7 separate regions of the Homo sapiens genome follow, and regions 2, 3, 4, 5, 6 and 7 are each linked to region 1. Evidence: promoter capture Hi-C in 16 types of primary human blood cells and fetal thymus (Javierre and others, 2016). All regions are on one chromosome and are shown on one strand. The core of a region is centred on a gene start or on the middle of the fragment in contact, and the rest is flanking DNA. Distances in the headings are between cores, read along the strand shown.

Region 1 (3,150 bases), core at 225-2,724:
AACAGTTAACCTGGCACCAGTGATTTGGTCCGAGAATCTTAGGCTTTTAAAGCTCAAGTCCAAACCTTTATTCTACAAATAGATTTTAAATTAAGGGCTTATGGTCTGGTTATAATCGCTAACTCTTACACTGTACTATGTACTTAGTACAGTTCTAAGTGCTTTACACCTATTTACTCCTTTAATCCTCCCAAAAAACCTGAAGCCGAGTGAAGCCAAGTAGTTTGCCCAAGGTAACACAGATATCAAGTGACGAGGTTAGAATTCAAATCCAAGCAGCATAGCTTCAAAACCTAGAGTCTTAAACCACCTGACTCTACTGCTCTTCTAGGACTCAGAGTTCTAATGTGAGAAAAGAATCCTCTATAGAGCTTTCTTTCAATTCCACCATCGCAAATGAATTGCAAACCTGTGACTCAAAAGTTCTTCCTGTGTGCAACCTTAAGTAATCTGACTTTTACATCCAAAATGGGTAACCTCTCTGGAAAACTAAAAGATGCAATGGCCAGTCTGAAAAGAACTCATGCTTCCCGTTGTTAGTGGGGTTCTGTTGTGTTGTTTTTTAATTGCAACACCTGAAACGCCTTAAAACACAAGTAAACAGGCTATCAGCCATTTTCCTGAGAACAGCAAACACCTATTACACTTTCATGATGCCTAAATTGATGAATCTGAGCTAAATACAGGAACGGCTGTCTTTTTCCCAGCTGTCTCTAATATATTTGGAAGACGGTAGACTCAGTTTATGCATGTGAATGTATGTGAGAAATGAGGGGGAAGTGGAGGGTGAGGAGGGGGAAGTGGAGGGTGAGGAGGGGGAAGTGAAGGGTGAGGAGGGGGAAGTGGAGGGTGAGGAGGCTATTCACTCCTCCACCTCTCCAAAGCGGGGCGACTCAGACTCAGACCCTGCTGCTAGAACTTAAAACCAGTATCACACCATTTCTGCCTTGGCCGGCTTCAGTGCCTCTCCAGGCTGTAGGGAGGTGGCTACGTGGCGCTAAGAGGACTTCCCCCAGCCAGAGAGGAGGTGGCAGCCCCAGGTGGTGGCATCCCCTCGCCCGGGGCCCCGCGACAGGGGGCGCCAGGACTTCCCGGGGATCCCCCAGGAGGGCAAAGTCTGAAGTGGCTAGCCTGGAGCCGCAGTTGGGCCAGGGCCTGCCTAGCAGCCCCTCACAGCCTCTGCGACCACTCCTGCCAAACCAACCTCCCAGCCTAAAGGGTTAGCCGACGCGCCGGGGACGGGGCCGGGCTCCTGAGGCAAAGGCACCCAAGACGAACGCTATATTCTGTGGGACACTCACCAGGTTGAGGGGTCCTTCCATTACTTCCATAGACCCCGGGGTAAGCGGCGGCCTTAGGAAGGGGAGTAGTGGCGCCGGGGAACATGGAGGGGACTGCAAGGGAGCTCGACGCAGCCGCGGAGACTGCGGCCCCTCTCTGCGCCCCAAGAGCCAGCGATAGGCGCTGAAGGAGCAACAACCTCACCACTTCCTCCTCCGGCGCCGCGCCGCGGGCCCGCCCCCTGCGCCACCGCCGAGGCCACGCACGGCGCCATGACGTCACACGCGCAAAAGGCTGGTTCAAGGTGGGAATGAGGACAGGCAGTGGGTGGGGCCCAGGGAAGGCGGGGCACCAGCTGATGTACGCTTGCGAGCGGTCAATCTTTCCTCTCGCGAGAAGCGTTAGTTTAGGTTCTTAAAGTCTACACTGAAGTCACGTGAGGAGGTACAGCCTTGCTGTTGAAGACTTGAAATGGCTGTCTTCTGCAATTAGCTTCTCACGTTTCCTTTTAGACTGACTTTTCCTTAAATCTGCTAATCGTTACACCGTTACTTGTGGTCCTGTCCACACCTTTATCATTGTACATGATTCATTTTTTCAAAAGGCCGATTTGAGCAATTCTAGACCATGCACTGGACTAACCCCCCTAGAGGTCAGCACACTCGAATGATTTAGGGCTCTGCCCTCAAGTTGCTCACAAACTGATAGGGAAACAATTTTGGTCTAGCCAAATATAATACTGCATTCATTTAACAATTATGTGCCAAACAAAAGCTAGGTTCGTTCTGTCATGGAATTCACTGACAAATAGTTGTGATTTATGCTGGAAAGGGAACACATAGGGAGCTGTGATAGAGTAACCAAGGTGGAGTTGGGTGGTAAAGGAAAGCCTTTCATGGGGGGCGTGATTTTTTTTGAGAAAGTGTCTTGCTGACGCAATCTCCACTCACTGCAACCTCCCTCTGCCCGCCCCCTGCCCCAGGCGATCCTCACACCTCAGTCTCTTAAGTAGCTAGGAACTACAAGTGCTCAGGCCAGGTTAATTTTTGTATTTTTTGTAGAGATGGGGTTTCGCCATGTTGCCTATGCTGATCTTGAACTGCTGAGCTCAAGTGAGCTCAATGATCCGCCCTCCTGGACCTCACAAACTGATGGGATTATAGGCATGAGCTACCGCACCTGGCTAAGGGCGTAATCTTTAAGATTAAACCTTAAAATGCCAGTTAAACAAAGACCCTTCTCGACAAAGGAAATGTCTTATGCCTCAACTCTAAAGGCGGGGAGGTCGGGTGGCGGGAGCTGCAGCATTTCAGAGAGATGCAAAAGAAGATACCAGAGAGATAGGAAACTTCCAAAACATAGGTGTCCTTGCAGTGCACAATGAAACATTTGAATTTTACTCAAAGTGCATTGGGAAATAAGTAAAGGATATTAAGCTAGAGAATAATCTGCTTTAATTTACAGTTTTGAAAAGATTAATTTCCCTGTAATGTGAAGAATAGATTGTGGAAGGCCTAAGGAAAAAGAACCAAGACAAGCTAGTTGATTGACTAATTATGGGCGCTCAGACTGGAATGGAAGTAGGGAAGATTGGGTCATGCATCCACTCATTACATAGTTATCATGTTTCTACCATGTGCCGGAAACCTTGGAAGAGAAGTAGATATATTCAAGATATATTTTTGGGCATCAGGTTGAGAGGAGTTAGTGATGGAATGGCAGTAAAGCATACAGAAAATGGAAGAATCAAATCTCGTATTTAAACAACCAAGTGGCCTAGCACACTGGCTCACCCCTGTAATCCCAGCTCTTTGGGAGGTCAAGGAGAGCAGATCACTTGAGGCCAGGAGTTTGAGACTGGTCTGGCCA
Region 2 (3,038 bases), core at 396-2,895, 860 kb after region 1:
GGACCACATCATAACTTCTTCTCCCAAGAGAAAGGTCTCTTGTAACAACTGTATTCTACAGATAATTACTAAATATGATCTTGCCTAATCTCTTTCTTCTAGTATCATAAATAAATGTATCTCCAGTTAAATATCTGGTTTTAACTCATCAAATACTCCTCTATCAGTGTCCAATTCTAAACTGGTTGACTCACCTCTGTTTTAATGAAGTGCTGGCTTCTACATGTATTTTGATCTGCAACTGAGAGCTGTATGTGTTGTAAGTACTATGTGTCTGATGATGGGCTCGCGGTGTGTTTTTCTTTTGAGTCAGGTACTACAGCTAGGCTCATGCAGCCTCATACTGAGTAGGAGATAATTATACCACAAAGTGGTAGCATAAGACAGAGATGTGCATTGGAGGAAAGGGCACATAATGATTCTGAAATTCAGACCTGTGTTTGTAGAAAACGAGGTGAGCTCCGTGTTGATAATTTTGAACACATATTTTATTGTTGTAAGGATATGGGTCATTCATAATGCAAGGGGACCATCATTCCCAACTGGGAAGCTTCTAGTATCACCTAGTCCAAAAGGTCTTAAAGAGGCATTTTACCTATTTGAGGAAGGGTATCCATTATATTTTTAAAGTACATTCTCAAACCAACTGCTTTTAAAAGGGTCTTGCAGTTAAAATGACCACATAATATCCACTACGGGATAAGTGCAAGATTGGTGCAACATTGGGACAACAGACCCAGACAGGGTCTGTCCCAGGCAAATGAAAAAACATGGGCACCTATTTATGGAGGAAAAATGCCCAAGGGTTTCTAGGCGATGAGGGCTGGAGGGTTGATTTGGTAGACTCTTCAAGAAGAGGCTTCCTCTTGCCTTTTCAAGGGGGAAATAAAGATAAACTAGGGACAATGAATTTTAAGGACTTTTCAAGGGTGTGATATCTTTGCTGCTTTCATTTTGATTTTTAAAAATCCCATGTTTCCCTTTATAATTAACAAAATCCATGAATTAAAATGGGTCTTTGTGCTAATCTTTAGGGCAGCAAGAAATGAGGCTCTTGAGAAATAGTACCCCATTTTGCTATCACCTTAGATGTTGGAGAGGGAAAGAGAGGGCGAGAGAGCTGAAAGAAATCCTTCGCAAGAAAACAAAGTAAGTGGACAGAGTAGTTGGCGGGGAACATCTGGGATTATAAACACTGGGGGCAAAGACAAGACCTTGTGAAATGCCTGACATAGTATCTCACGAACCTGATGAATAAAACCATGATATCTGGGTGACCCTGGTGACAACGCTGGGAAAGGTGAGAGGAAACAGAGAGCGCTGTGTTTGAGAGTAATGTTATTGGTTCTTTAGGAACGAGACCGTGGGCTCTTAGTGACGCTGTGGGTTCCTGAGTTGTCTGGGAGTACAGGGACTGCAGCCTCGAGTCTGTCCAGCTACGATCACTTTGGAAGGCCTTCGGTGGGATGCGGGCAGAAAGCTCCCAGTGCAAAGGGCGTGCCACGAAAACCACCAGCCAGAAACCTGAGCTGGGACAGGTGCGCTCCGCCGCCGAAGCTTTCCCCGCGGCCCCTCCCACTCCCGTCCCAGGCCCGCCCACATCCCTGTCCGGGACTTAAGTCCGGCACCGCCGCCCTCTCCCCCGCCCCGCCGCGCTAGAGCCTGGGGTCTCGGCAACTTCCGGCGGCGGGAGCTGCAGAGCGCAAGGCGCGCCCACTGCGCGTGCGCTTCGGCCCGGCTCCTCCTGCGCCCCCGGCCCCTGCGACTGGGACTTGGTACGGCCGGGCGGTTGGCGTCCTCTGCGGCTCCTGCCAGGGGCGGGCTTTTCAAATCTTCCCTTTGAAGGAGTGGCGACGGCCCGGACAGTTCGCGTTGGAGATGGAGGGGCCGAGCCTGAGGGGTCCTGCGCTCCGCCTGGCGGGGCTTCCCACCCAGCAGGTGAGTTGCGGGAGGGACCCTGCCGCGGAAGGTGAGGGAGCCGGGGTTCTGTTCCTCGCGCATTTGCTTTGTGGAGGAGTCGGGAAAGCCTCTCCCCCGCTCCTCTATTTCAGCGGTGGCCAGAAACAAAGGGAGGGATTAGGAGACTGCGCTCTTGGGGCTCTAAAGGGCCTGGACATCGGAACCCCCGAGTTTCTCAGGCAGCTGAGGTCCGGATTGGGAAGGCGGTGCCGGGGTCCAGGCGCGCGTTTGCGGGCGCACCTGTCCGCTGCCCTCCCCAGGCTTTGGACGCCTGTCTTTTTGCAGGTGTAGGTGATGCCGGGGAAATGGGAGCCCCTCGATTCCCAAGAAACCCAGCGAGGCCAGTGGACAGCTGGCTTATTACGGATTTAATGGGAAGCACAGTAATGGAGCGATGTCTACACACAACACAGAACTGGTTGGGGGGAGGGGGTTCGGAGCGGAGTAGAGGCAAACAGCAACCTCTGCACTTTAGAAAAAGTTGAAGGTTTGATACTGGGTTCTTTCTCAAATCATTTGAAAGGAAAGAGGGAGTACACGTGACATTGGATAGAAGTTTGATGTTTGCTTTTGAGCCATGTAAAATGCGTTAGAAACCTTTTTATTTTACTTTTTACTAAACCAACATTATTTCTTGGCAGCATCAGTTATTAAAATGTTACCACTTTTCACTCTTAACCATAACTTTAGGGTCTTAAAAGAAAACTCTGATGTCTTTAAGCTGGACCTTCACTTCTATTTTAATCTCTACCTTCTTTTACCTACTTCAGAAATAGGTTAAGCCATATGAAATTGCCAGTTTTGTAGGTCAAAATTGGTAGAATATTTGCAATTTCATTCATATGGAGGCACCTGATATCTTTGTTTAAAAATCTGGGATTTCCTTAGCAGACACAAAATTATTAGTTTTCAATAATACTGTGAAAAATAAAGCAAGACATTAAGATTCATTATGCAAAAGAAGTCCAGTGTCTTTATCAGTAATACTTATGCTGTTTTATGCCAGCATTTTCAAAAATTTCAAAGATTTTGATGTACTTTTTTTCAGTCCTGTCCTGTTATGTACTTTGGCTGTCCTG
Region 3 (3,414 bases), core at 287-2,786, 710 kb after region 1:
AGAATACTAACATAACTCTGAACTAAGACAATGAAGATATATGGCAGTACCTTGCAGATAAGAGGAAGCTGCTTCTGATATTTTTTTGCTATTCAGAATACAGTGGTAAAACATTATCCAAATCAATAGCTGAGTATCAGCTATAGATCCAGCAAGGAGTTCACATCTGTAACAACTATAGTTGTAATAATCTGCTGTCATTATTCCAGATTCATCTGTATTCTGCATAGAGCAAACAGATAAGTTAATGCTGACCTGAAAGAAATCAATAGCTCTGCAGCTTTCAAGATTTTGATGGTGGCACTGATCTTTTCAATTACCTCAGGGATGTAGTATCAATTATTGTTTACTATTTGGAGAAAGAAATCCCAAGGACTTCTTGCATATCTCTATCATTAAAGCCTTTACTTCAACAGTGAGTATGCCAATGTCGGGAGGCTGTCAGTACATAATTAAATCTATTTCAACCATGCTTTCAGGGATTAGCACACTGTGGTTTTGCAGAGTTCCTGGCTTTACGTGATACGGACTTGGGTTAACATTTCATTTTATCACCCAAATTCTAAAGCCCACCCGCTTAACTGAGTATAGAGGATTCATGGTCCTGAGGAATTTGCATCAGCTCAAGGCTGATGAGAAGTAATCCCTAAAAAGATTGGGTATTTTACTTTATCAACTGTGGATTCACCCTTGTAAATGGCCCCAGATTCTTTTGGTAAAGGCCAGGTAACAGATTTGCAGTACATAATTGTGCCAGTGTTGTACGATCTTTCATCAAGTTGACTAGACTCTCCTACATTCACAAGACCTGTTCAATTTGTGAACTAGCTCAGTTCAGAAAATTGGTGATGACAATAAGATTGTTGATGACTTAGACATTAACAATCAAATCAAAATAGACAAATACATATTTTTCCAGTATAAGCAATGAGCTACCACTATCGGTTGCCAATGTCTCTAAACCCAAGTAGGCCACATTTCTATCTTTTGAAGTCTGTTTTCCAGACTTCTTCTGGTACAAAATGGTTTATCAGTCAGTGTTCAGTTAAAAAAAAAAAAAAACCATCTCTACAAAAATATAAAAAACTAGCCGGGTGTGGTGACAGGTGCCTCTGGTCTCAGCTACTCAGGAGGCTGAGGTGGGAGGATCACTTGAGCCAGGGAGGTGGAGGTTGCAGTGAGCTGGCATGGCGCCACTGCACTCCAGCCCAGGTGACAGAGTGACAGAGCCTGACTCAATAAAAAAAAAAAGCCTGAAAACAAGAAAAACAGAAACCATTCTAGAAGACATTAGGTGCATACAAAACCAGTGGAATGTCCAGACGACAGAAAATCAAGGCAGGTCATCCCTTTATTTTCAAGTTCACTGCCAACTTGCAATCAATCAAAGTATTATTTCTGTAGTCCAGGCCAAGAACTTAGAGGCTGCCAGAGACAGTAAAGCTTGCTAAGTATTCTATTTACTTTCCTTTATTTCTTAGCTTCTTTGCAGTTATATGGGCCAATTACAATGTGAAAAAATATGTGAATCATTTCTGAGTTAAGACAGAGAAAATCCTACATGCAATTCTCTTGTCTTTTTCTGTGACATAGTTACCTACAAGAATACAAACTTAAATTTAAGCTTAAGTCTCAGTGTTACAAAGATGGTGGAAGCTCCATCAAACTGAACAATAACAAAAAAATTGAATCACTGGTTCAAAGAAAACAAAGTCCCAAATGTTTTTACAAGCATGTTCTAACAAATATTTATTACGAGTTAATTTCAAATTTGCACAAACTGCTTCAGAAATAGTAAATTCTAGTCTAACTTTGATATCCAAATAAGACAATGTCAATACAAAAAAGGAAAATTGTAGGCCAATTAATTTCAACCTAAATGCAATAATGTATATAAAAGTAATATGTAATGACTAAGTATGATTTATTCCAAGAACTCAGGTTTATTTAATGTTATAAAATAAATTAACATAACCTAATACATTAAGATTTTAAAGGAGAAATATAAAACAAAATCTCATTCAATAAAGGAGAAAACATCTCTCTAAATTTATATATTTTTTTGTGATATATCTTAGCAAACCAGGAATTGATAGGAATTATAATAACCTAAAAAGTGTACATACCAAAAACTTACAATAATGATCATACTCAATGATAAAACATTAATTAATATATGAGGATATTTCCATGACCTTGGGTAGGGAATAAAACAAAAAAGCACTAAGCATAAAGGAAAAAACTATTGATGAACTTGACTACCTTAACATTCTGACCTTTTGTTCATGCAAAAACAACAATAAATAACACAAGAAAAACCCTACTCCCCGCTTTGAGCCATGTATTCATCTTTCAAAACTGTTTGCTGTTGCTGCAAATAGCTATAAATTAACTGAACAATGTCACATCAGACACTAAAATCCACGCTCAATAGCTAAACAATGTGCACCCAATCATTAATCAGTGTTACCTCTGTTAACCAATGAGAATTCCTGACAAACGACTTTGTATAAGCCCACCCCGTCCTTTTTTTTTTTTTTTCCTTTAAAAACCTGCTTGTAACAAAAGCCAAATGGAGCTTATATTCAAGGTTACTTGGATCTAAGTCTTCTAGATAGCTGTCCTCCCTTTGGCTCAAATAAACCCTTTAAATTATATGTTTTGCCTCAGCCTCCGTCTTCCTTTTAGATTGATAAATATCATTATGTGCAGTTTTTACATATGCAAATGGAAGCTCAGAGAAGTTAAGTAACTTGTCTAAGTTTGCAAACATAGTAAGATTAATCCAACTGTATAGCCTCCAAATCAAAGCCAGTACATAGTACCATCTTTAAGAGTAACATGGTCTGGAGATTGGCCATGTAACATATGTTACACTATCTTCAGGAGTAGACTGTATCAAAGCGGAATGCACACATTTACTTTTAGATTTTCTTTCATTAGATATATTGACCACATTGTTTGAGGAAAGCAAACTTGAAGTCAATGTTGATATTGGCAATAAATTTCCAGGGTATATTTATAATGTTCTTCAGACGTGTATAATATTAGTAAGATTGTTGGCTATGTGCTTAAGGTTCTTTGTTTCTATTGCCTGTCTGAGCTGGCACTGAAAGAGTTCAGAATAAGTCATCACACCACATTGGCATAAGGATTATTTTGAGCTAAAGGCAATTGAGACTCAGCAGATGCAGGAAGAGCTCTCTACTCTTCTAGGCTTTATCTGCCTAAAAGGAAGGTATGGATTGCCCTTTGAGGAAGATGCCCCTTTTATACTAGGGAGAGAAGAGCTACTATTCTTACTGAAGACAGAGCCAATACCAAGATGAATATGCTTAAACAGACTTTAATAAAAATAGCCCTCATCTTCCATTACTTCGCCCACGTATTTTCATACTGCCTAATCACTTGAAG
Region 4 (3,180 bases), core at 223-2,722, 700 kb after region 1:
TCAAGAGTCCCTTGGGTTTCCCATTTTGTTCACAAGATAATTTTGCAGATCCAGACATTAAATCCTTTATAACCTCATGCAAAGTCAGGGCAAAGGAAGAGCCACAGCTATTAGAGGGCTTGCACATATGCTTTCCCATCTTTGTTATAAAGAATATGTCTTTCTCAGAAGATATCAGTGTATTTCCCCTATGCTTCATTGGCTAAACCGAGCTACACATCCCATCCCTAGCTGCAAGAGAATCTGGGAAAGGGAGGCATTGTTAGGTAGTGAGTCAACATTTTTTTTTTTTTTTGCTAGAGTTGAAATAATCATAAAATTCTAAGTAAAGATTATTTAATCAATTGCTCAATCACGTGAGTGCTTCTGGAATAAACACAATGAAGGAATACACATGGCATGAGGAAAATGTAAAGAGAGAGAGGAAGACAGAGACCGAGAAGAGAAAGAATAGACCCATTATTAGTTGAAAGATGAGAAGAATTTAAATTGGTAAAGATGAAGGAGATTTCAAGTAAGGGAGAAAAACTAAGAAAGTGGGAAATGGAATTAAAATATCTATACTGACCAGAAACCATAAGTGTAGTATCAACAACAGCAAGGTGATAGTCTTACCGATATTCATACCATTAGAATAATTTTATTTTCCATGCTAAATGACCTTAAATGAGCACTATTTTCTATTTGAAATGTGTTTGTGTGTGTATTTCTCAAGAAGCACTCTAGCTAATTAGACAAAATGCTTGCAAGTTAGTGAGGCTGTAATGCAGAAGGAATAGAGACCAGGCAAATTCTTTCTGCTTGATGCCTACCTTAATAAAGCTTTCTAAGTACTGTGAGAAGCATACTGAGGAAGGATACTGGTGCTAGATACCATTCATCAGCTATTGCAAGCTTCAAAGGCACCGAAATGCTGAGTTATGAGGATTTTGCCAGAATCTATTCAAGTGGAAAGCACCCGGAGTAAGGCACAGTGTGCCTCTGAATCTTCTGCTTACATAAGAGAATAGCAAAGGCCTTAGATAAGGGAGTGACTTGATCTAATGTTATATCTCTTCCTTAATGCCAGTTATTCTGTATCTGCCCTTCATGTTTTTTTCCTTTATCTATCTTGTTAACACTCAAAATTACTTTATGTATGTGTTTGTTTACCTGGTTTTTGTAGTCTTTCCCCTTTCAATAAAAACTCTATGTGGCTGGGCATGGTAGCTCATTCCTGTAATCCCAGCATTTTGGGAGGCCAACGCGGGTGTATCACTTGAGGCCAGGAGTTTGAGACCAGCCTGGGCAATGTGGCGAAACCTCATCTCTACTAAAAATACAAAAATTAGCCTGGCATGGTTGCTGCGCCTGTAATCCCAGCTACCAGGGAGGCTGAGGCACGAGAATCGCTTGAGCCTGGGAGGCGGAGGTTGCAGTGAGCTGAGATAGAGCCATTGCACTCCAGCCTGGGTGATGGAGTGAGACTCTGTCTCAAAAAAAAAAAAACAAAAACAAAAACAAGAAAATACTGTATGAAAACAGATATAATATTCCTGTTCTCCATTGTATCTTCAGTCCTTGTCACAGGATCTGTGGACTCTCAATATTTATGAAATGAATGCATGAGTGAATAAATGCTCCTATCTGTTAACTAATTTCCCATACACAGTTACTTGAAATCTACAAAGCTGTCCAGCACCAGCTGTTATTCCAACAGGCCCATGCTATGCATCACGACAGAAGAATGATGTTGGATGTAGAGCGTGTTCAGCAAATAAAACTCATCAAACCAAATCTCACCAGGCGACCAATAAAAGAAAGATTAATACCTACATAATCAAGCCTGTGGTTTGTCTTACTTTAAAGTATGTGGATAGATTATCAGCTGTCACCCCCTAGTGGTAGAGAATATAATTATCAGGGCTGCTTGTTTCTGGTCAAAGGAAGGAAAAGAAGCCAGGAGATTTACAGAAAAGTGCATTTGCTACCAATCTCACAACCTTTAAATTGCATATACTATTCACACACACACGTACGTATATGTGTGAATTTAGAAGGAAAAAGCTTTATGAGTTACACCTTACTCTGATGATCTGGCTGTTTGTTAACTGCCTGGAAAACATAACATGAGATGTAAATAACTTGCTAAAAACTCGCTTTAAACTTTGTCTGCTTCCGTCATTACAATTCCTTATGAAATCCCTTCCTGAGAAAGAATTAAAATAGCTATTTATTCTCAAAGCCTCTTAGAGAAGAATATTGATTTCCTATTTAAAATTTGACATTTACTCTATGACGTGCGTAGAATTTCCAGAAAGCAAGGAAACCATGACGAAGTTACCCTAAAGCTTGATATAGATCAACTTTTTTAGATAAATTTCAGAAAACTACATTTTTTAAAGACAAAAAAAGTTAAATTCAGCCAAACTGCTACTTACAAATCATTAGTCGCAAAACAGCCAGTTGCTTAACTGAATTCAACCACATACATTTCCCTGCCTCCACCCAATCCTATTTTCCAAAACACCCACAGACACATATATTTGTATCTATGGGTATAGATTGTGGAAGACTTTAAAATAAACCATCCAAAATGATCTCTGATTCTGAAATCACTGGAAACAGAGAATACATTTCTCATACATACATTTAAATGTGGTATTTGACTCTCCCTCTTAGCTAGAGAGAGTTTATGTGGAATTTATAAGAAAGTTTATAGTCAGAAGTCCATCTGCTTATAGGTCTTGTTTGAAATGCTTGGTGTGTGTGTGTGCTAGCCACATTTTTTGGAGCACTCGTTGTTTACGGTGCATTGAGCTAGGCATTTAACCCTCCTAACCAACTTATGATATAAACAGTACTATCATAACCATCTTACAGATGAGCCTGCTCAGGCATATTAAATTCCTGGCACAATGTTACCAGCTACAGGGCTAGATCTTACTAGATCCCAATTGGTTGTCCTTCCATCATTAGCTTTTTCAGTTAATTGGCTCTGCTCAACAAGAAGCAGGAACTTAGTAAGTGCAATGATGTTGGTCATGAAGGGTGCTGGCAAGATTCAAAAGGCTTCAGGAAATATTCATTTCTTAGTGAATAAAAATTTCTTGGTGAAAATCTTCCTGCCTTAATGAAATAATGAACCTAATTAACAACTAAGGTCTTGTAAAGCATCAAAATTATCCTTTTTAGCATTAT
Region 5 (3,388 bases), core at 877-3,376, 640 kb after region 1:
TCACACAAGTCCATAAAAACACAGTTGCACGAGCAAGCTTCTTACTTGGAGTATTCTTACCTGAGAGCGGAAATGCCAGTCATTGTGTCAAGCAAGTCTAAACTTGGTTGGGTGAAAGAGGGGTTGTAGGGGAATCACTGCTTTGCTTGACAGCCCCCTTAGAAGAAAATGGTTTCCATTCAACATTTTTGTTTCATCTTGTTCTTAAACCCCCCTCCTTTTCTTATTTAACCACCCACCCAAAGCCAAAATAATGGCTCAAAGCAATTGGCTTCTCTCTATAACAACTAATCTTTGCCTACTGACGATGGGCTTGAATATATTTGACATTTGTTGCCTAATGCTGGCTGCACATTCGCTGTTTGCTTTTTAAAAGAAGGATACAAATAGTGGCTACACGTGCCTTTTGGAAATTATTTTCCAAAACCAAATACACAGCACGTTTGGGGACTCCTGAAATAGTGCTCTCTTTTGGACACCAGTCTCAGCACTGGCTCCAGATAAGAAGGGTCTCCCACAGAACCCTTACTTAGCCAAAACCTTCCTCCCACATGGGTCTCCAAGGAGAGTCAAAAATTCTCCAAAAGTTGGAGAAAGAAAAGGGAGGTTTCCAAACCACACAAACGTACACATTTTCCAAACAACTTCTTCCAAGCAGCTGACACTGCCTTCCTCCTCAAGGAAGGAAAGAGACCCTGGGCTTCATTTTTTGAGCACCTGCAGTTGGACCTTCATTGTGAAAGCCAGATTGTTGTATTTGAGGTTTCCAATCAGAATGGAGAAATCTGGAGAAAAGAGTGAAGATGACAAACCAAACACACGTAAGAGGGAAGCAATCAATACAATCCAGGCTGAAATGTCCAAACCCCCTTTATGAAGGTGTTTTGCAGCATCACCATATTCCTATTTCTGTGATTCCTTCTCCCAAATGTGTAGATCCCAGGTAAATGTTAAATTCTTGTGAGAAGTTGATTTTAGACTTTCAGCGTTTAACAAATGAGAATATTTGAGGATATGAGATATACGCAAGTGGGAAGAGGAAGGATGAGCACTTGATACATGTTAGCTCATTGAAGCCCACCTCTCAGTCCGCTTTCTTAAGATACATATTTTTTCAGTGAGATCCAGAGAGGTTAAAGAACATGCTCAGCTAATAAGCAGTGAAGCTGAGATTTGATTCCTAGGACTTCAAAGTCTGTTCTCTTTCATCTGCCCTCCACTGCTGAAAGATTATGATGCAATAATTCTTTCTAGGAAAGAAGAAAAGAATTAAATCCTAAGCGATGTATTTAAGTATTCAAGGTTTGTGCCAAACCTACCTTTCCAAACACATCCCTTGCTCTTTTCTTTGATAAAGCTTCTCTAGCCAGTCGGATCTTTCACTGTGCTCTGAATCAGCCAGCTATCACTCAAAGGCACTTATAATCTAGTTAAGGAAATATATATGCACAGTGAGAATAAATAAAAGAAGGAGGAGTGACCAAATTTCTTTTTTCAGAAAGTGCTGATTTTCACAATAAATCAGTTTTTTTCTCATTGTAAACCTCAAAGACTTTCAGTAAAACAATTAACATGCACGGAGGCATTTGTTCTTGTATGGCTGAATAGACATACCAAGTCCAAAATTTATTGCCTAATACTTTTCAGACAACTTTCACTCCTCTCCTATCTGTCTCTTCCACCCATTTATCCAGTGTTGAAACAAGAGGACAGGGGAAATGGGATGCTCCATTTATTTCATTTTAGGTGGATAAATGATTTTTTTTTTTTTTTGAGATGGAGTCTCACACTGTCACCCAGTCTGGAGTGCAATGGCGCAATCTCGGCTCACTGCAACCTCCGCCTCCCAGGTTCAAGCCATTCTCCTGCCTCAGCCTCTCGAGTAGCTGGGATTACAGGTGCCCACCACCACACCCAGCTAATTTTTTGTATTTTCAGGAAATACGGGGTTTCACAATGTTGGCCAGGCTGGTCTTGAACGCCTGACCTCGTGATCCACCCTCCTCGGCCTCCCAAATGATTTTAACATTGACTTAACCTTGCCCTCTATACAAAGTTAATGAAGTTTAGGGGAGGAATGGTAGCTATAAAGATATTGAGAGAATAGATAAAACTTCATTATTGACTATGAATTACATGATGGTATTGTATCAAAGTTAAGTAGCTGATTTTGATGATGATACTGTGGATAGATAAGAGAATGTCCTAATTCTTAGAAAATTCACCCTGAAGTATTGGAGTAAAAGGGGAATGATATCTCCAACTTAGTCTCAAGTGGTTCAGAGAAAAAGAATATGAGAGAGCATAGGAGAAAGTGGCGGTGGGAGGGAGAAAGAAAGAGGGAGATGGAGGGAGAACTAGAAAGCAAATATGGCAAAATATACACAGCGGATGAATCGGAGGAAAGAAAATTCCTCATGTGTCCTTTTTCTAATGTTTCTCTAAATTTCAAGTTATATCAAAGTAAAAGGTTGCAAATAAAAATGTTCACGGAATTAGTTTCAGGATCTCCTGGGGAAAATGTAACTGACAATTTGGGAGGGAAATAGCTTTAGAGAAATCCCAGGCAAACCCCTTCGGTTTAGAGATGGGGAAGCTGAGGCCCAGAGCTGGGTCAGTGCCTGGATGAAGAGCTGTCAGAGGCACACAGCAGCAGCATCCAGCTCACAGACTTCTGAGGGGTATCCTTCAACTGTGCTGCCTGTTTTTCTCATACACTTTTTCTTGACTAGTTTAAATCCCCTTTGATTACCTTCTCTGACTTTCTCAACTTCCCTCAAATCATTTTTATACACTTCTCCAAAAGCGTATTCCCTGCATGGCACACTAATTCTGCAGGATTTTAATAGATTTAATAGATGTTATATAAAGAAGTCTGTGCCCAAATAAGCTTGGGAAATATAGGGTCAAACAAGGTAAAACAGATTTCTTTAGTGGAGGACTTCTCAGGGCCTTTACGATGCTAATGTGCACATTGTAGGAGAGGAGGGCGAGTGTAATATGCCACATTTTCCAAATATATTTGGACAAGGGAGCCTCTTTTTTTGTGGAGTCTCAGGGGCTACACATTCCAACACATTTTAGAAAATAGGTGGAGCAGGATAGAGCAGCCAATGAGTCACGACTAAATGCTCCATGACAGATGTCACGTGTCGTTTCTTTCATTCAGCATCATGAAACTCCAATGTTTCCTGCACTGTTGCGACTTCTTACATGGTGCTGCTAAAACAGGGACAGTTTATAGGGCTAAGTCCTAATTCTTACTTTGAATTGACAAACTACATCTTTGGACAAATCAGCAAATCCCTTTGAGTCTGTTTCTTCATCTGTGAAAGAGAGGTGGTATCCAGGAACAGAAAACCAAACACCGCATGTTCTCACTCATAAG
Region 6 (3,246 bases), core at 746-3,245, 670 kb after region 1:
GCAGGGATGGAGTTTCCCCATCTGTGTCATAACTATGCTCAGAGGCCTTTCCCTGTTCAGACAAGATTTTACTCAGGAGCTCAACCTGTGAAACAGCTGCTCTGGTTGAAGCTCTCCTCCTCCCCCTCCGACTGGGGGCAGTCCTGGAAAAATCACAGGAGACTCAGCCAGCTTTACCAGCTCCTCCAGCGCTAGGCTCTTGGCCCACGTGTGATAGAACGCCCTGCGAAAGCTGATTAAACTGCCCTTTAAAGAATCCCATCTCCCACAGTGGAGATGTGTACTTGTCTTTAAGGCCTGCTCGCTCATATTTCTGGGAGGATCAGCCCTAGAAGATTCTGTTAGTTATGGAAATATGATTGTGCGTTTGAGAGGAAGCTTGGGTCTCTCTCTGGGGTGGAGGAGTTGAGTCTGAATGTAGAGGCACAGGGAAGTCTTTGTAGGACGGAGAAGATCTGCAGACAACAGCATGAATTGTTTGAATTTTTAACATGAAATTGAAGATCTTTCTGTGGGGGCGTGACCCTCCTTCTCTCACAGGTTCCAACACTCCCGATTGCTTCACACCTGGACAGATTCACATATATATGGGGCTTGTCTGGCTCCTATGGGCATCTGAGTTTGTGGACCCCTGGCCTATATGTAAAGCCAATGCTGCCCCAGAATTTAGCCAAACCAATGAAGTGAAGAATCCTCCCCATACATTTCCACATTGTCGTTTCAACTCTTGTCTTCTGATATGTACTCCTGTCTCCCAACACCACATCAGAATTAACCTCTATTGTTCCCATTAGCCTGATTTGTATCTCTCTTAGGGCTTAGAGCAATCTGTCTCATATTACCATTTTCTATACAGTAGTCCCCACTTATCTGAGGTTTTGCTTTTCTAGGTTTCAGTTACCCATGGTCAACCATGGCCCAAAAATAGATGAATACAGTACAATAAGGTATTTTAAGAGAGAGAGAGAGACCACGCTGACATAACTTTTATTACACTATATTGTTGTAATTGTTCTATTTTATTATTAGCCATTGTTGTTCATCTCTTCCTGTGCCTAATTTATAAACTAAACTTTATCACAGGTATGTATTTATAAGAAAAAACATGTAAGAGTTCAGTACTATCCACAGCTTCAGGCATCCACTGCGGGTCTTGAATGCATCCCTGGCACATAAAAGAGGGACTGAAGAATTACTCATTAATATATATCTCTGCAGGGACTTGGACAAGTACTCAATAATTATTTTTTGACTTATTGTCAGTTCGGATCAGGTCTGACTGCCACAATGTACAGAAGAACTGTAACCATCGTTACAGCCTCCATGCCATCACCACTTACCTCCCAGTGATATGGCCCCTCTCAAGAGCTGTTTGGAGGTAGAGAAGAGAATAAGACCAGTGGCAAGTCACTCAAATCTGGTACTATTCAGTTAAAAGGAACATCATATATAGGGGGAAAAGCTACAGAATATAATGGACCCTCATTTTAAAGGAAGAAACAGACTTTCCTCCTTGCTAATGATGACTTGGGAGAAGGAGAATGTGAAAATGTGTGTTTTCATACAGAAACCAATGGCCTGCTGCGCCCCTTCCAGTCTCTCTCATATGGACCCAGATGGGCTGCTGGTTATTGTAACCAGGCCCAACCCACCCACCCAGGTGGTGGCTTTACCTCCAATTCCAGGTCATTTTGGCACACCAGGCGAGCTTCGCCAGCACCTTTCCAGCTCTGAAAGGAAAAGAAGGGTACTGCCATCATGAATGGAGCTAGTGTGTAGACTGAATAAGTCACAGCAAGACTACAAGCAGTGCCATGTTCCATTCATTTAAGTAAAGAGAGCTGACATATTTTCCCAGGCTAGAAACAGAAATTGCATTAATGTGCTAATTGCAATCAGGACTATATCACTTTGCCTTTTTATTGCATTCAGAGTTTTGTTACCCTATATTAAAAATCATACACCACTCTTCATTTCCCTAAATATTTTAATTGGTATATTTTAGTCTGGATGTGTGTACATTCTCTGTTCCCTCCCATCTGGGTGTAATTTTCCATCGTCTCCCCCTGATGATCTGCATTTTCTCCTTCAAGTCCCTCCTGTAAACCCACTTCTGTGGATCTTGCTTTCACATTATGCCATTAAAAGATCCAGCTGGAAGGAAGTGCCTCTGAATGGAGTCCAAGAGAAGAAACAAAGAAGATGGAAACCAGATGCCATTGAAGTCATCCCCATGTGAGTCATGGTTTTCTCCTGGAAAGTGTCTATCTCAATGCTGTGCATCTTTTCAATTTGAAGCCCACTAGGCAGAAGCTCTCCCTCCATCTATGTGTGTTTTAGCCATCCTCAGTAGAACCATATATTTTGAATACTATTGGCATACAGTAAATGTATACATAGTACTAACAGTAACAAATAAATATTTACTAGTTAGGTTTTAGATCCAACATAAGATAGTCATTTCTTTCATGGGTCATTTACCCACTCTTATTCCAGGCCCATTCTTCACCAGCTACTCTCAGGATTTGAAGTGAATGCTCTAGTTTGATAAGGGTGTAGGGTTTAGGATTGTTCAGTATTAAAAACAAATAACAACAAAAAACCAAAATATAGATAAAGCCAATGCTGACCTCCAGAGGTTAGAATCAACATATCTTTTCTTGTTTTTAAGTACAACTTAAACAGATTTCTGTGTAACAGATCGTATCATCTCTGAAGTTTGTTCATTCAGGTAGGAAAAAAGACCAAAAACTCAGCTAATATTATTAAAAAATAATAATAAAGTGAGAGGAAGATCCCTGTTTTCCCCAAGTGGTTTTAAGAAACAGCTTTCAAAACTCTTCTAGAAGGGTATTCAATTAAGCCAGTAGCAAAAATGTAACTGGCAAAATCTAATGTTGTTTTAAAAAAAACACATGTGCATGCACCCACATACACACACATTTATATACCCACACAATATTATATATATATGTGTGTGTGTGTGTGTGTGTGTGTGTGTGTTCAAGATGGTGGACTGGATGCTTGCATTTATCTACACTCCTTTTCAAAATTCTGCTGAAGAGTCAGTTAAGGAAATAAATTCATAACCATGCTGAAGACAAAAAAGGAAACCATCAGCAGACATTTTGATACTTTTCTGGAAGAAGGAAAGACAGTGAATAGTATGGATAGATGAAACAGAGCAGAGAAAGCAGCACCCCAGATATACTCAGGAGGAGGCTGCAGAAAGGGTGGAATGTTCTT
Region 7 (3,040 bases), core at 433-2,932, 590 kb before region 1:
AGGAGAGGGTGGGGCCTCTTTGGCAGGCAGTGGCTGCAGCTATGGTTGCCCAAGCTCAGGCCGAGGGTGAGGTGCAGCCCCATGTTAAACTCTCAAAATGTCGCCTTGGACCAGGAGCCAGAGAGGGCGTGCACCACCCAGGCAAGCAGTATGGGCAAGAAGCTGTGGGGAGTGCAGTGTGATCACGTCTCAGTCTCACAGCAGCTCATTACAGGGCAGTGGGTATTGTCCTAGATAGGCGTAGAATGGCCTGGATTCCCTGTCAATCCCTGCCCAGGCTGGCAGCATGGGGGAGGGCAGTTCACTCGTGTCTCAGTCTCCACAGCAGCTTATAGCAGAGTGGCAAGCACCTTCCCGAGGGTGCATGGGAGCGCCCAGTCTTGCCTCTTCCTCCTTGGAGCAGCTGCAGCTGTGTCTGTAGATCCCTGGTATCTGGGCTCTCAAAGTGGCTCCCAGCTGAGACTGCTCCAGGCTCAGATGCCCGTGGGATTCTGTGTGGGTTCCCTTTCTGGAGCAAGATTCCTGTGCAATCTTTAGGCAGCTCCGTATGTCAGGCATGAGGCCCCAGTGGGTCAGGGGTTCCTCCCATAGCCAAGATCGTAAAAACCCATTTTGGAGCTCTGGGGATTTCTCTCTCACTGTTTCCCCAAGGCCAGAAACCTCTCAGCTCTCAGTCAGCTCTCAGCTGAGCAAGCTGCCTCGAACCCTCTCCTCAATTACTTCTGGCACTTATCATCTCTTCTCCGATGAATTCAAGTGTTCCCTTATAGACAGTTATTCTGAAGGCTGAGAAGTCTAAAACTAAGGTGCTGGCAGATCTGGTGTCTGATGACAGCCTGCATCCTGGTTTGCAGACGGCTATCTTCTTGTATCCTAACATGATTAAGAACAGAGAGAATGGCCTTCTCTTATTATCTTTGAAATTCAGCTAAGACCCTGAAGCCAAAGAGACCCACTAGGTACATTTCTGCAGAATTTTATTTTAAAATGCCCAAGCTCATCCTTAAAATACCAAACTTCAAAACGAAACACAGAAAATAACAAGTGTTGGTGAGGATGTGGAGAAAATGCCAAAAGACAGGCAATAATAAATAAATAAAAATAAATAAATAAAACTTCATTAATTACCTTCAGCCAATTTAAGAGAAGGCTATACATTCATTATGGGGTGCTTTGTTTTTTGTTTTTTGTTGTTTTTGAGACACAGTCTCGCTCTGTTGCCCAGGCTAGAGTGCAGTGGCACGATCTTGGCTCACTGCAACCTCCGCCTCCTGGGTTCAAGTGATTCTCCTGCCTCAGCCTCCCGAGTAGCTGGGATTACAGGTGCCTACCTCCACACCTGGCTAATTTTTTATTTTTAGTAGACACAGGGTTTCACCATGTTGGCCAGGCTGGTCTCAAACTCCTGATCTCCGGTGATCCACCCACCTTGGCCTCCCAAAGTGCTGGGATTCCAGGCGTGCGTCTCTCTGCCCGGCCTATGAGGTGCTTTGAAAGGCATTTTTAGAACTAGAAAAGCTTTGGCTTTTTCCCTCCCTCCCTACTGCTAAGCCAAGTGAAGGAGTCCAAGCAAATCAGTCACAGGGACCAGAAATGCCTACGAGAAAGATTTGTATCTCACTTCCTGGCTGGATGTTTACAGAGCCCTGACATCACAGGCCCTGGTGCTGCTTCCAGACCATAGAGAACAACAAGTGTTCTTAGGAGAGCCAAAGAGCATCCACAGGCATTTGCTGGCATCTTTGCCTGGTTTCCATCCATCTCAAGAACGCTGAAGGCAAGAGACTGGCTGGAGCAGCATGCAATTACAGGGTGGGAGAGAGGGCTGATTAGATGGTTAAGCTTTAGGGAGGAAAAGGATGGACAGTGTTTTCCCATTGACCAAGGGAACCTGAAGAGAGTAGCAAGACATGCATCATCTGGAACAGACCCTGACCAAAAGAACTACTGCCTGAAGCCAGGGGTCCCCAGCAGGAAGAAGCTGTGTAGAGTGAAGCCCAGAACATGTGGGGCAAAAGCTGAGAGAAGATTTTCAGAAGCAACTGGAGAATGACCAGAATAGGAGGAACCCCCTGCATCCCCACAGGGTGCCCTGGAGAAGCTCTATGTGAATTCTCAGATTAACAGAGGGAATGAGTCCCAGCCAGTATTATCCATGAGAGAATCACATACAATACCAGCTAAGTACAGTGACACTTTGCTCCTCTTTCTCTGATCTGCATGCTGGATTCTATACTAGAGGAATTAGAAAGCAGGAAAGAGATGAGAAATAGTCAGAAAAACACTGAAAGAACAGTCATGCTCTCCTTCCTCAGAGTCAGAAGTAAGAAGAGTTAAGGAGAGAAGATTCAAGCTATATATGAGATTGGACTAAGTTTTTTTTTGGCTGGGGAGGGCGTTGTTTTGTTTTGTTTTTTTAATACAGGGTCTCACTCTGTCACCCAGGCTGGAGGACAGTGGTGCACTCATAGCTCATTGTAACCTCAATCTCCTGAGCTCAAGTGATCCTCCCACCTCAGCCTCCTAAGTAGCTGGGACTATAGGCATGCACCATCACACCCAGCTAATTTTTTTTTTTAATACAGACAGGGTCTTGCTAGGTTGCTCAGGCTGGTCTCAAACTCCTGGCCTCAAGTGATCCTCCCACTCAGCCTCCCAAAGTAGTGGAGTTACAGGCGTGACCCACCATGCCCAGCCCAGACTAACATTTTTAATACCTGAAAACAGGGGCTAGGCACAGTGGCTCATGCCTGCAATCTCAGCACTTTGGGAGGCCCAGGCAGGAGCCCAGGAATTCAAGACCAGCCTGGGCAACATAGTGGGACCTCATGTGTACCAAATACACACACACACACACACACACACACACACACACACACACACACACACAATTAGCCAGGTATGGTGCATATTCCTGTAGTCCCAGTTGCTCCGGAGACTGAGATTGAGGATCACTTGAGCCCAGGAGGTTAAGGCTGCAGTGAGGCAACAGAGTGAAACCATGTATTAAAAATAAGAAACCATGTATTAAAAATAAGAA

What was found. The method cuts DNA at HindIII sites, captures the fragments that hold promoters and counts their contacts. A CHiCAGO score of 5 or more calls a contact.
Region 2: the fragment with the promoter of RTKN2 here is called in contact with the fragment with the promoter of NRBF2 in region 1 in 4 of 17 cell types (non-activated CD4 T cells, total B cells, M2 macrophages and 1 more); the score reaches 6.4 in non-activated CD4 T cells.
Region 3: a fragment that was not itself captured here is called in contact with the fragment with the promoter of NRBF2 in region 1 in 1 of 17 cell types (total B cells); the score reaches 6.0 in total B cells.
Region 4: a contact is called between a fragment that was not itself captured here and the fragment with the promoter of NRBF2 in region 1, in 5 of 17 cell types (naive B cells, total B cells, total CD8 T cells and 2 more). The highest score is 7.8, in naive B cells.
Region 5: a fragment that was not itself captured here is called in contact with the fragment with the promoter of NRBF2 in region 1 in 1 of 17 cell types (total B cells); the score reaches 5.5 in total B cells.
Region 6: a contact is called between a fragment that was not itself captured here and the fragment with the promoter of NRBF2 in region 1, in 1 of 17 cell types (naive B cells). The highest score is 5.1, in naive B cells.
Region 7: a fragment that was not itself captured here is called in contact with the fragment with the promoter of NRBF2 in region 1 in 5 of 17 cell types (total CD8 T cells, erythroblasts, total B cells and 2 more); the score reaches 7.7 in total CD8 T cells.

Annotation. Positions count from the first base shown.
Region 1 is chr10:63,131,652-63,134,801 of GRCh38, reverse strand. It overlaps NRBF2 (nuclear receptor binding factor 2), which reads right to left and starts at 1,474. Exons shown (of 4, transcript NM_030759.5): 1 at 1,302-1,474. The coding sequence starts at 1,331. RefSeq lists silencers at 928-1,197, 1,408-1,657. The HindIII fragment of the contact is 9,214 bases long and covers 1-3,150 here.
Region 2 is chr10:62,267,451-62,270,488 of GRCh38, reverse strand. RTKN2 (rhotekin 2) reads left to right here and starts at 1,645. Exons shown (of 12, transcript NM_145307.4): 1 at 1,645-1,938. The coding sequence starts at 1,879. All of the region lies in intron 1 of LINC02621 (long intergenic non-protein coding RNA 2621), which reads right to left. RefSeq lists a silencer at 1,564-1,893. The HindIII fragment of the contact is 2,285 bases long and covers 1,560-3,038 here.
Region 3 is chr10:62,418,622-62,422,035 of GRCh38, reverse strand. It overlaps a transcript of ZNF365 not described here. Among named protein-coding and RNA genes, the nearest start is that of ZNF365, 46 kb to the right of the region's middle. The HindIII fragment of the contact is 181 bases long and covers 1,446-1,626 here.
Region 4 is chr10:62,436,502-62,439,681 of GRCh38, reverse strand. It overlaps a transcript of ZNF365 not described here. Among named protein-coding and RNA genes, the nearest start is that of ZNF365, 64 kb to the right of the region's middle. The HindIII fragment of the contact is 1,152 bases long and covers 897-2,048 here.
Region 5 is chr10:62,494,968-62,498,355 of GRCh38, reverse strand. No RefSeq gene overlaps it. Among named protein-coding and RNA genes, the nearest start is that of ZNF365, 120 kb to the right of the region's middle. The HindIII fragment of the contact is 1,533 bases long and covers 1,360-2,892 here.
Region 6 is chr10:62,458,225-62,461,470 of GRCh38, reverse strand. It overlaps a transcript of ZNF365 not described here. Among named protein-coding and RNA genes, the nearest start is that of ZNF365, 85 kb to the right of the region's middle. The HindIII fragment of the contact is 3,229 bases long and covers 381-3,246 here.
Region 7 is chr10:63,721,318-63,724,357 of GRCh38, reverse strand. No RefSeq gene overlaps it. Among named protein-coding and RNA genes, the nearest start is that of REEP3, 200 kb to the right of the region's middle. The HindIII fragment of the contact is 324 bases long and covers 1,521-1,844 here.